Regions from separate parts of the Homo sapiens genome. Here region 1 is linked to region 2. Evidence: promoter capture Hi-C in human tissues and cell types (Jung and others, 2019). All regions are on one chromosome and are shown on one strand. Each heading gives the region's core, a stretch centred on a gene start or on the middle of the fragment in contact. The rest is flanking DNA. Distances are from core to core; before and after follow the strand shown.

What was found. Contacts are between HindIII fragments. The study calls those that stand out against the background at their distance.
Region 1: a contact is called between a fragment that was not itself captured here and the fragment with the promoter of TYROBP in region 2, in 6 of the 25 tissues and cell types used here (H1 embryonic stem cells, dorsolateral prefrontal cortex, lymphoblastoid cells and 3 more).

The regions. Positions count from the first base shown.
Region 1 is chr19:35,970,246-35,975,944 of GRCh38, forward strand. No RefSeq gene overlaps it. Among named protein-coding and RNA genes, the nearest start is that of SDHAF1, 22 kb to the right of the region's middle. RefSeq lists silencers at 3,309-3,509, 5,509-5,699. The HindIII fragment of the contact is 9,546 bases long and covers 1-5,699 here.
Region 2 is chr19:35,904,600-35,911,072 of GRCh38, forward strand. It overlaps TYROBP (transmembrane immune signaling adaptor TYROBP), which reads right to left and starts at 3,696. Exons shown (of 5, transcript NM_003332.4): 1 at 3,569-3,696; 2 at 3,131-3,163; 3 at 2,847-2,981; 4 at 2,619-2,665; 5 at 1-35. The coding sequence starts at 3,629. RefSeq lists a silencer at 2,708-2,861 and enhancers at 4,673-4,802, 4,953-5,002, 5,103-5,212. The HindIII fragment of the contact is 6,909 bases long and covers 970-6,473 here.

The DNA of each region.
Region 1 (5,699 bases), core at 1,937-4,436, 65 kb after region 2:
CAACTCAAAATTATAACGTTTTCCAGAGCTTATATACATTCTAGGCTATATTAGAAGAAATTAATCACTTATGTCTTTAGATGAATGCAAACTTACATGAGTAAATTTACTTCATCTAAATGGGTCCAGGTGCTGGGGTGATTACCCTTATCTTGTCTCCTGCTAAATTATGGAGGCTTGGGGAGTTCCTTTAGTCTCCAATAAAGCTTGTTTGTGAAGGTCTGGGGAGTTCCTTCAGACCCCCAATAAAGCTTGTATAATCTTAAATGGGAACTGTTAAGAATTCCTTCGTGAGGCTGGGCATGGTGGCTCATGCCTGTAATACCAGCACTTTGGGAGGCTGAGGCGGGAGGATCACCTGAGGTCGGGAGTTCGAGACCAGCCTGACCAACACAGAGAAATCCCATCTCTACTAAAAATACAAAATTAGCTGGGCATGGTGGCGCATGCCTGTAATCCCAGCTACTCGGGAAGCTGAGGCAAGAGAATTGCTTGAACCTGGGAGGTGGAGGTTGTGGTGAGCTGAGATCGCGCCATTGCACTCCAGCCTGGGCAACAAGAGTGAAACTCTGTCTCAAAAAAACAAAAAATAAAGGAATTCCTTCATGATCTTGTCATGCCTCAAGGGCCAGGAAAGGCCTGGCCTAAACTCTTGGTGAGCTTTTGTTACATTCCAGCCTTTGTATGGACGCTGGCTCTACCAGCGTTTTTTGTTTTGTTTCTTTTTTCTTTTTTGAGACGGAGTCTCACTCTCTTGTCCAGGCTGGAGCACAGTGGCGCCATCTCAACTCACTGCAACCTCCTCCTCCCAGATTCAACTCTCCCAGGTAGCTGGGATTACAGGTGTGCACCACCATGCCCAGCTAATTTTTTTTGTATTTTTAGTAGAGACGGGGCTTTACTATATTGGCCAGGCTGGTCTCGAACTCCCGACCTCAGATGATCCTCCTGCCTCAGCCTCCCAAAGTGCTGGGCTTACAGGCGTGAGCCACCGCTCCTGGCCTCTATCAGCTTTTAGTATTTAACCCAACCACAGTCAGTGCTAAAACAGTTGTTATGGAGGCCTGCGTTCATGAGATGTGGCTTGCCACACTAGGCCACCCCTCAGCACCACTATAGAAAAACAATGGTGGCCTGGGTTCAAATTCCGGTTTGGCACTTGATATCTATGTGACCTTGGATAAATTATTTAACCTCTCTGGGCCTCAATTTCTTCATATGTGAAATGAGAATGATGAAAAGATCTGATTCATAGGGCTGTAGTGAGGATTAAATGAGCTAATATATGGAAAGCACAGAAAATATGCAAAGCTAGGACCCGAGACGTGAAGCCATGATGCTGCATACCTGCCTCCACACCGCCTGGGAGTTTGCCCTGCCACTCAGGGGTCAGGATGCCCCCCAGTGCTCTTAAGGCTCCCCAGCATCCAGTAGCCCCCACCCCAGGTATCCAGAACCTTCAGATACTCAGGGCTCCAGACTTATACTCTCACCAACATGATCCCTCTTTTCCCAAGGACTTGACACTCCTGTGTTCCTTCCTCAATTAATTGGAATTTTAGAATTTTTTTTTTTTTTTTGAGACTGAGTCTCACTCTGTTGCCCAGGCTGGAGTGCAGTGGTGAGATCTTGGCTCACTGCAACCTCTGCCTCCCAGGTTCAAGCAATTGTCCTGCCTCAGCCTCCCAAGTAGCCTGGGACTACAGGCACATGCCACCACACTCGGATAATTTTTGTGTTTTTAGTAGACACGGGGTTTCACTATGTTGGCCAGGCTGGTCTGGAACTCTTGACCTCAGGTGATCCACCTGCCTCAGCCTCCCAAAGTGCTGGGATTACAGGCGTGAGCCACTGCGCCCTGCCAAGATTTGGGCAGGGACAAATAGCCAAACTATATCAGACACTAACAACATCCCTGTGGCTGCCAGTTGAGAACAGATTACAGGGCTTGTGAAGGAATGAGGCCTGGAGGAACAACAGTGAGGAGGCTGCTGCAGTAGTCCCGGCAGGAGACAATGGGGCTTGGACCAGGGTGGGGCAGTGAACGCAGGAGAAATGTGGGCTGGAAACCACCAAGTGAGGCAAAATAAGGAAATCATGGACTGGGAGAAAGGAGGTACCCCTTGATCTGGAAGGACAGGTGGAGGCTCTTGGTAATGGGGGAAGCCCTTGGGTCCTGTCTGAAGGCTCTCCTGTTTACTGGATGAGGTGGGCACACCTGGCTCCTTGGTAGGATTACTCATCTAGATTCCTGAGAAGAGGACTTGCAAGTATTGTGTTAGGACAAATCTGGATATTGAAATCAAGACTCCCAGTTTAAAAAAAAAAAAAAAGAAGGCCGGGCACAGTGGCTCACGCCTGTAATCCCAACACTTTGGGAGGCCAAGGCGGGCGGATCACGAGGTCAGGAGTTCAAAACCAGCCTGACCAACATGGTGAAACCCTGTCTCTACTAAAACTACAAAAATTAGCTTGGCATGGTAGTGCACGCCTGTAATCCCAGCTACTCAGGAGGCTGAGAGAGCAGAATTGCTTGAACCTGGGAGGTGGAGGTTGCAGTGAGCCAAGATCTCGCCACTGCATTCCAGCCTGGGAGACAGAGCGAGACTCTGTCTCAAAAAAAAAAAAAAAAAAAAAAAAGATTCCCGGATAGAGGCTGGGCATGGTGGCTCACATCTACAATCCCAGCACTTTAGGAGGCCAAGGTGGGCAGACTGCTTGAGCTCAGGAGTTCCAGACCAGCCTGGGCAACATGACGAAACCTCGTCTCTACTTAAACACACACACACACACACACACACACACACACACACACACACACACACACACACAGAAAGATTCTTGGTTAGCTGGGCACGGTGGCTCACACCTGTAATCACAGCACTTTGGGAGGCCAAGGTGGGCGGATCACAAGGTCAGGAGATCGAGACCATCCTGGCTAGCACAGTGAAACCCTGTCTCTACTAAAAATACAAAAAATTACGGGGCGTGGTGGCAGGCGCCTGTAGTCCCAGCTACTGGGGAGGCTGAGACAGGAGAATGGCGTGAACCCAGGAGACGGAGCTTGCAGTGAGCCGAGACTGTGCCACTGCACTCCAACCTGGGCGGCAGGGTGAGACTCTGTCTCGAAAAAAAAAAAAAGAAGAAGAAGAAGAAAAAGAAAGATTCTTGGTTAGTAGACGAGGGTGGGGCATCCTAGATCTGCAAAGGCCCCACTCTCAATATCCCAGAATCCAACCCCCTCAACCTCCTTATCCTCCACCCCTCCCCGATGCTCAGGAATTCAGCCCCTCTGAAGACCCCAGCTCTTGGTCACTCCTGCAGGGGAACCCACAGCAGCTGGGGCTGTCAGTTATCCTGGGCGACAGATGGCTATGGTTGTACTTCCACACCTCAGAACCATGGGCAGAGGCAGGTCTGGAGCAAGAACCGCCCACACTGCATCTCTTTTACAACCGGCAGCACACACGTCACTGCACGTGGCTGAAGGTTGCCACTCACACAAGGCAGACTGTGCAGTGACTTCATTCAGGCAGGACCATGACATGGGCAGTCCAGATCCACTGGTCTTCGTGCATTTGGGCCCCGCAGCCACCTGATACCCTGAGCCAAGCCTTAGTCCCCACAGGAGACTGGGGGCCCTGTGCTGTCCCTGTAGCCCCAAAGGGGCCCCTTAGCCACTGCCACCAAGTGTGACACCTACACCCTTCGAGGCCAGTGCCGTGCCTGGATATGCCCCTTCCCCAGCTCCCTGCCTACGCTTTGGGAGTGCTTCCATGTCTGTGTACACCCTGTCAGGCCTCAGTGTCAACACTGAGCCCTCGAGCTTCTGGGCTGGCTGCCGTGAGTGACCCTTCAAGGGAAAGGGTTATAGGCTGCTGGGTAAAGGGGATTCTGGGACTTAGGAATGACACTCCTTAGTTCTGGAGGCTGATTCCTGGGGCAAGGGTGTAGGGTCCCTGGAAGGGGACAGCCTCTGGGTCCTGGGGGCAAGACTGCTGAGTTGGGGGGTGCGGGGAAAATAATTCTAGGGCCCAGAGACAGGGCTCTTTGGGTCTGGGGCCAGGGCTTCTGGGTCCTGGGCATGGGAACAACTTGGCTATAGGGCTGGGACTGCTGGGTTCTCAAGTTCTAGAGACTAGAACACCTAGGTGGTGACAACTCCAGTATCTGGGGTGAGCGCTCTGAGTCCCAGAGCCAGACTTATTTATTTATTTAGACAGGATGTCACTCTGTTGTTTATTTAGACAGGGTATCACTCTGTTGCCAAGGCTGGAGTGCAGTGGTACTATCATAGCTCACTGCAGCCTCAACCTCCCAGGCTCAAGCCATCCTCCCTCCTCAGCTTCCCAAGTATCTGGGACCACGGGCATGTGCCACTATGCCCAGATAATTTTTTAATTTTTTTTGTAAAGATGAGGTCTTCCTATGTTGCCCAGGCTGGTCTCTAATTCCTGAGCTCAAGTGATCCTCCCACCTTGGCCTCCCAAAATGCTGGGATTACAGATGTGAGCCACTACGCCTGTCCCAGAGCCAGACTTCTATGTTCTGGGGAGTGGACTTCTGGTTTCTTAGCACAGAGACTTCTTTACTCTGTGAGGCAGGGATTGCTGGGTCTGTTGCCTGGAGAGCTCCATTCTAGAGGGTGAGGACCACAGGATGTTGGTAGGGATTCCTGGAAGCTGAGAGCAGGGACATTTGCACTATAGGGGTGGCCAAATGCTTGGGTCTTGGAAACCAGACCTGGGAGTCCTGGTGTGAATACCTTTCCCTTCCTGTCTTTCTCCATCCCCACTCCTGCCCCTGCAGCTATTGAGTGCCCCGAAAACAATCACTATGAGCCATGTGGCTTATCCTGTCCAGAGACCCCCCACAGGCAGGCCCACTGGGGGTTACCACTGCCCTGCGGGCATACTTGTGCCTGCGACACAGGCTGCTTCTTCCTTTTTTAAGAGACAGGGTCCTGCCAGGCGCGGTGGCTCATGCCCGTAATCCCAGCACTTTAGGAGGCTGAGGCAGGCGGATAATCTGAGGTCAGGAGTTCAAGACCAGCCTGACCAATATGATGAAACCCCATCTCTACTAAAAATACAAAAATTAGTTGGGTGTGGTGGCAGGTGCCTATAATCCCAGAATCTAGGGAGGCTGAGACAGGAGAATCGCTTGAACTCAGGAGGTGGAGATTGGAGTGAGCCGAGATTGTGCCACTGCACTCCAGCCTGGGCGACAGAGCAAGACTCTGTCAAAAACAAAATCCTAGAATCTCAAGGGCAAGCCCCAGTGTACCAGAAGTGTCAGACTCTGGGATCTTGGAACCCAGTTCTGAGCCAATAATTCCATTTCCTCATTCAACAACCATATATTGAGTATCTACTGTGTTCCAGGCACTATTTGAAGTGCTTCTTTAAGTATGTTAACTGAATTTCAGAACACACTCTCAGTCCAGGTCCTGGGCACCCCCATATAGGATCCAGGAGTTCTAAAGTCCCAATCCCCAATGTTTACAAACCCTCACAGCCCCCCAAATCCTAGATGCCAAACACAACTGCTGTGGACAACAACGATCAGAACCATGGACAGCAGTTCAGGCATTTGTAGCTGCTGTGGGCCCACCCCCTGCCCAGTACCAGTCATCACAGCACCCTGGAACCCCTGCCATTACTTAGAAAGTCCAGCATCCTTGGAATGCTTATAGACCA
Region 2 (6,473 bases), core at 2,446-4,945:
TCGCTGTAGACATCCGACCTCTGACCCTGGAGCTCCTAAAGGAATGGGGGCCATCAGTGGAAGGGACCCACCAAATAAAATCCAGCCTTCTCCCAGTGGCCTGCAAGGCCCCTGGCAGCTTCTTCAGCCTTATAGCCATGAAAGAGATCCGGATTTTATTCAAGTACATTCAATGTTCCCCCTTCTCCTCTGCCTCATCAGTGTGCCCCAGCCTCAGGGTCCCTGCGTGTGCTGTTTCCTCTGCCTAAAACTCTGTTCCCCTAGATCCCCTCTCCCTTCAAGTCTCAGCTCACGTCACCTCCTCAGAGAGGCATTTCTCAATTTCCCCTCTGTAGTTTCTTCCCCCCACACTCCAGCCACTGTAAAAAAAAAAAAAAAAGCCTGTTTATTTCCTTTACTGTGCCTCCCAAAATTATTTTATTTGTTCATTTGCTTTAAGTTTGTCTTAACTAGGATATAAACTCTGTCACTGTGTCCCCAGCATTTAGCACTTATAGGTGCTAGACACATCCACAGAGGGAATAAATACATCCGGGTAATGCTTTGCCCTAAAATTTCACTGCCACCAGTAACTGGAAGGGCCCCTCGGTCTTCTGGATATCACAGAGCCAAACCTGAGATTCTTAGACTTCACAAAGAAACTTTATCCACAAGTGAGGTGAATAGGCAAAGCTGGTTGCAGACAATATATCAGACTTCACACAGCAGTGTTCACACTTGGGGTAGGGGGAGGATCTATGTGGCCCCCAGGGGCAGGCCTCAGACAGAAACCCTAAAATCATATATGATGACTAGTCTGGGCGTGCATTCTTCAGGGGAGAGGTCTTAGAGAATCTCATGACCCCCTAAAGGGTTAAAAAGGAACATTGACAGAGAGGGGGATAGATGACTAGATTCTCTTGTATACTCTATAGTTTTTAAAAAGAGCTTCAGCCAGGCATGGTGACTCATGCCTATAATCCCAGCACTTTGGGAGACCGAGGTAACAGGATCTCTTGAGCCCAGGAGTTTGAGACCAGCCTGGGCAACATAGTGAGAACCTATCTCTACTTTAAAAAAAAAAAAAAAATTAAGGCCGGGCGCGGTGGCTCACACCTCTAATCCCAGCACTTTGGGAGGGAAAGGTGGGCGGATCACGAGGTCAGGAGATTGAGACCAGCCTGGCCAACATAGTGAAACCCCATCTCTACTAAAAATACAAAAATTAGCCGGGTGTGGTGGCATGCACCTGTAGTTCCAGCTACTCGGGAGGCTCAGGCAAGAGAATCGCTTGAACCTGGGAGGTGGAGGTTGCAGTGAGCTGAGACCACACCATTGCACTCCAGCCTGGGTGACAGAATGAGACTCCATCTCAAAAAAAAAAAAAAATTAAAGTAGAGAAAGAAAAAAGAGCTTCAAGAATACTCAACCAGCATGGTTGCTTGAGCCTGTAATCCCAAGATTTTCGGAGGCTGAGGCGGGAGGATCACTTGAGACTGGGAGTTTGAGACCAGCTGGGGCAACATAGTGAGACCCCTGTCTTTTTTTTTTTTTTGAGATGGAGTCTCACTCTGTCGCCCAGGCTCACTGCAACCTCCGCCCCCTGGGTTCAAGCGATTCTCTTGCCTCAGCCTCCTGAGAAGCTGGAATTACAGGCGCATGACACCATGCCCAGCTAATTTTTGTATTTTTAGTAGAGATGGGGTTTCACCATCCTGGCCTGGCTGGTCTTGAACTCCTGACCTCGTGATCCACCCACCTTGGCCTCCCAAAGTGCTGGGATTACAGGTGTGTGCCACCATGCCTGGCCAAAAAAAAATTTTTTTTAATTATAAAGAACATTTACACTGCTCTCAGATTATATGCACAATTTTGTATTTTTTGTGTAGATTTTTCTGGGAGTCTAGATTTTCTTAGTTTCTCAAAGGGATGAAGGGTCCTCAAACCCAAAAAAGAGATTCTAGGACTCCTCTCTTTAGAGTTACCAAGGTAGGGCTGAATGACATTCTCTGCCCTACTGAGAGCGTCTCCCAGAAATCAGTCGTCCTAGGGCTGGGTTTCTTCCAGAAAATTCCTGGCCTGACTTCTGGCAAGGCCTGTGTTTACACTTACAAAGGCAAAGCCACCCTTTTTTTTTTCTTTTTAACTCTTCACGCTTTTTTTTTTTTGACAGAGTTTTCCTCTTGTTGCCCAGGCTGGAGTGCAATTGCGTGATCTTGGCTCACTGCAACCTCCGCCTCCTGGGTCAAAGGATTCTCCTGCCTCAGCCTCCCAAGTAGCTGGGATTACAGGCATGCGTTACCACGCCCAGCTAATTTTGTATTTTTAGTAGAGACAGGGTTTCACCATGTTGGTCTCGAACTCCTGACCTCAAGTGATCCACCCGCCTCTGTCTCCCAAAGTGCTGGGATTACAGGTTTGAGTCACCGTGCCCAGCCCCTCTTCACACATTTTAAGCTGACCATAAGCTTGTGGTTGATCATTCGGCCCAGTTTTGGACAGATGTCCCATGTGCCTTCAAGGTTTGGGGGTGCTTTAGGCAGAGTGGCTTTGAGGTCCCTCTGATGGCATGAAGGAGTATCTGGGGCAGATATCCCTGGCAGGAGTGAAATGTGAGGAGGACAGTCTGGTTTTCTCACCTGATAAGGCGACTCGGTCTCAGTGATACGCTGTTTCCGGGTCGCTGCTGGAGGTGAGGGGTGTTGTGGGGTGCAGAGACAGGCAGAGTGGTGAGTTGAGGGTGTTTTGTCATTCCAAATCAGCACCTCCATTACCATCCCTTTGGATGTTTGAGATCTGGGAGTTTACCCAGCCCCCCACCCCCATCTAGGCAAGTCCTCAGGATGTCCCCTGCTAGCCCCACTCACCCTCCGCAGCCCCTCGCCCCCGAGGGACCAGCCGGCCCAGGAAGTACACGGCCAGGGCAATGAGCACTGTCAGCACCAGGTCTCCCATCACGATCCCTGCCAGCACGCCCGGGCTCACCGTAGAGCAACTGCAATCTGCAGCACAGGGGTCAGGGGAGGTCAGTGTGTGCTGGGAACTGTGGGGAGGGGGGTCAGCGGCAGGGAGGTTTGGAAAGGGTGTGGGAGAGACGGAGACAGGGAGGTCTCTGGGAGGTAGAGAGAGGGACTGCTGGGTCTAGGCCTACCGCTCTGGGCCTGGGCCTGGACAGGACGGAGACCTGAGGAGGAAAAAGAAGGTAAACTGAGGCACAGAGTTATGACGGGGGTGGGGGAGGCAAGTTTAGAAGCCAGGGAAGGTGGATCCTGACAGCCAAGAGGTTAGCAAGGGGGAGAGCGTGTCTGGCGGGACTCAGGGGGCTGGCGTCTGGGCCACCGGACTATGTGCGTTACTTCTGCACAACTTGTCCTGTGGCAACACACTTAGATGTCTCTTCTCCCCTGCTTGTAGCGGACGACAAAACTTGGGGGCTTGGGCTCTGGGAGAAACCCACAGGCTTTGGGAGGTTGGGGACCTGCTCCCATCCCAACACCCACTTTTGGTTCTCTCGTTCCACCCCACTCCCTGCCCTGCCCCAAGCTGAGCCCAGGGACCCGGGAGGCAGCCACGGAAGCCCCTAACTCACCACTTACAGCCAGCAGGAGAGGCAGGAGCAGGAGCCTGCTGCAGGGTTCAAGTCCCCCCATGAAGCCGGATGCTGCTGGACACCACAGTGTAAGGGCCGGTGGGATGTGGCGCAGCGTCCAGGCAAGTGAAGGAGGAAGTCTGAGGCGGGTGGTGGCAGAAGGGAGGAGGAGACAGGGGAGGAGAGACAGAAACAAAACCCAAGAAAGAATCAGGCCCAGACACCCAGGGGCCATGCCACAGGCCCCCAGCAACTAGACGTGAAGGGCAAAGGGTACGTGAAGCACAAACTTCACCTCCGTCCCCAGTCAGGGGTCAGACATCGTTTTAACAGGAGGGTCAGTGTCATGACCTTCCTCTGGCTGATTGAAACCAGCTCTGCCTCTTCCTGGCTGGTCAACCTTGAGTGCAATGGCACGGTCTCGGCTCACTGCAACCTCTGCCTCCCGGGTTCAAGTGATTCTCCTGCCTCAGCCTCCCAAGTAGCTGGGATTATAGGCGCCTGCCACCATGCCCGGCTAATTTTTTGTATTTTTTTTTCTTTTTTTTTTAGTAGAGACAGGGTTTCACCATGTTGGCCAGCTGGTCTCAAACTCCTGACCTCAGGTGATCCACCCACCTTGGCCTCCCGAAGTGCTAGGATTGCAAGTGTGAGCCACCGCACCCAGCTCCAACCTCAGTTTCTTCATCTGTAAAATTGGGAGTAAAATGGGACCTACTTTTTAGAGTTGTGGGGATTAAATGAATTAAAGTTCCTAGACCAGGGTCTGACCCTTGTCAGCTTTTTAAAAGCATCAGCTATGATGATGATTATTTAATCATCAGAAACTTGTGCTGTTTAAAGGATATTAAAAGAGCCAGCAGCATGTGGGCACTAATGACATGCAGGCACTCTGTCCCAAGCGTTAAATCATTCAGTCCCCGCAATGCCCTTCTAGGGCACATGCTCTTATCATCCCCATTGTTCAGAGAGGTAGAGACGCTTGCCTAAGGCTGCACAGCAAATCAAGGTGGAAATGGAACCCAAGACCCAAAATCAGGTTTTTGACTAGGGAAGAGTCAGGGGGAAAAACAAAGATGAAAGATGGGGAAGGAGAAAACAGCGGCAAAGCTGAGAAAGGTGAGAGTAAGGCAGTGGCACAGACACAGAGGCACGGCTGGCGGCTTGGGGAGAGGCAGGTGGCTGGCTCTCCTGCTGAATGAGGAAGTGGCTGGGAGCAAGGCCCAAGGGAGGCCACCCCAAGGAGACGGGGACTTCTAGCCCCCAGCTGGAGCCTGGGGCTGGGGAAGGAGGAACCTGAGGTTAGGGTGCTGGAGGATGAGACAGCTGCAGGAAGCCCCCCTCCCCCATCCACACGTCACACCCACCGCTCCTTGGGCCTGGGCTTAGGAGAAAAAAGGGGAAACTGGATTCTGGTCACAGGGCAGATGCCCAGTGGCCTGTGGGGGAAGGGAGGAGAGGAGATTTGGAGCCTGGAGGAGGGTCAGGTCCCAGCTCAGCCCACGGTCACCACTGTTCAGGCCTGGCTGAGTCCCCTCCCTTAAAAACCCAAGCCTCTCCCATTGTGTCTAGAGCGAGCATGGAGGGAACAGACCCTGTAGGTCCTCCCGGGCACACCAGGCCACCCAATGTGTTGGAGCAGAGTGGGCGAGGGGGCAGTCAGAGACCAGAGCAGGGCTCTGAGCCAGGAGGGCCCTGACCTGACTCAGGGGTTCACAGGTTCCCTCCGGCCGCAGGTGGGGAGCAGACTGTGGAGGCAGGGACTGGAGCAGGGAGGCCAGGCTGCTGGGATATTTGTGAGGATATTGTGAGGTCTATTAGAATAATGCCTGGTTGAGTTCAAGACCAGCCCGGCCAGCATGGTGAAACCCCATCTCTACTAAAAATTAGGCTGGGCACGGTGGCTTATGCCTGTAATCCCAGCACTTTGGGAGGCTGAGGCGGGCGGATCACGAGGTCAGGAGATCGAGACCATCCTGGCCAACATGGTGAAACCCGGTCTCTACTAAAAATACAAAAAATTACCTGGGCATGGTGGTGGGCACCTGTAGTCCCAGCTACTCAGAAGGCTGAGGCAAGACAATACCTTGAACCTGGAAGGTGGAGGTTACAGTGAGCTGAGATCGCGCCACTGCACTCCAGCCTGGGCGACACAGCAAGACTCTGTCTCAAAATAATGATAATAATAATAAAGGGCCAAGCGCGGTGGATCACGCCTGTAATCCAACACTTTGGAAGACCGAGGTGGGCGGATCCCCTGAGGTCGGCAGTTCGAGACCAGCCTGACCAATATGGAGAAACTCGGTCTTTACTAAAAAATACAAAATTAGCCTGGCGTGGTGGCGCGTGCCTGTAATTCCAGCTACTCAGGAGCCTGAGGCAGGAGAATCGCTTGAACCCAGGAGGCAGAGGTTGCAGTGAGCAGAGATTGCGCCATTGCACTCCAGCCTGGGCAACAAAAGCGAAACTCAGTCTCAAAATAATAATAATAATAATAATAATAATAATAATAATAATAATAATAATAAACTTTCACTCCTGCTCTAAAACTTACCTTGGTTTCTCACTCTGCCTTATGTCCCTTGGTCAAATTCTTTTTTGAGGAGGCAAGGATTGAGGTTGCTGCAGACCCCTATGGATTCACTGCTGCGAACATACTTCGGTACCGTGTGACTTGGATATGTTCCATGCTAAAAATTAGTATGTCCAGTCTCGAGTTCTCAGCTTAGCTTGATAAAAATCCTCCCTCAGCCAGGTGCAGTGGCTCACACCTGTAATCCCAGGCGTGATTTTGGATTTTGGGACTTTAGGAGGCCAAGGAGGGTGGATCACCTGAGGTCAGGAGTTTGAGACCAGCCTGGCCAACATGGTGAAACCCTGTCTCTACTAAAAATACAAAAACTAG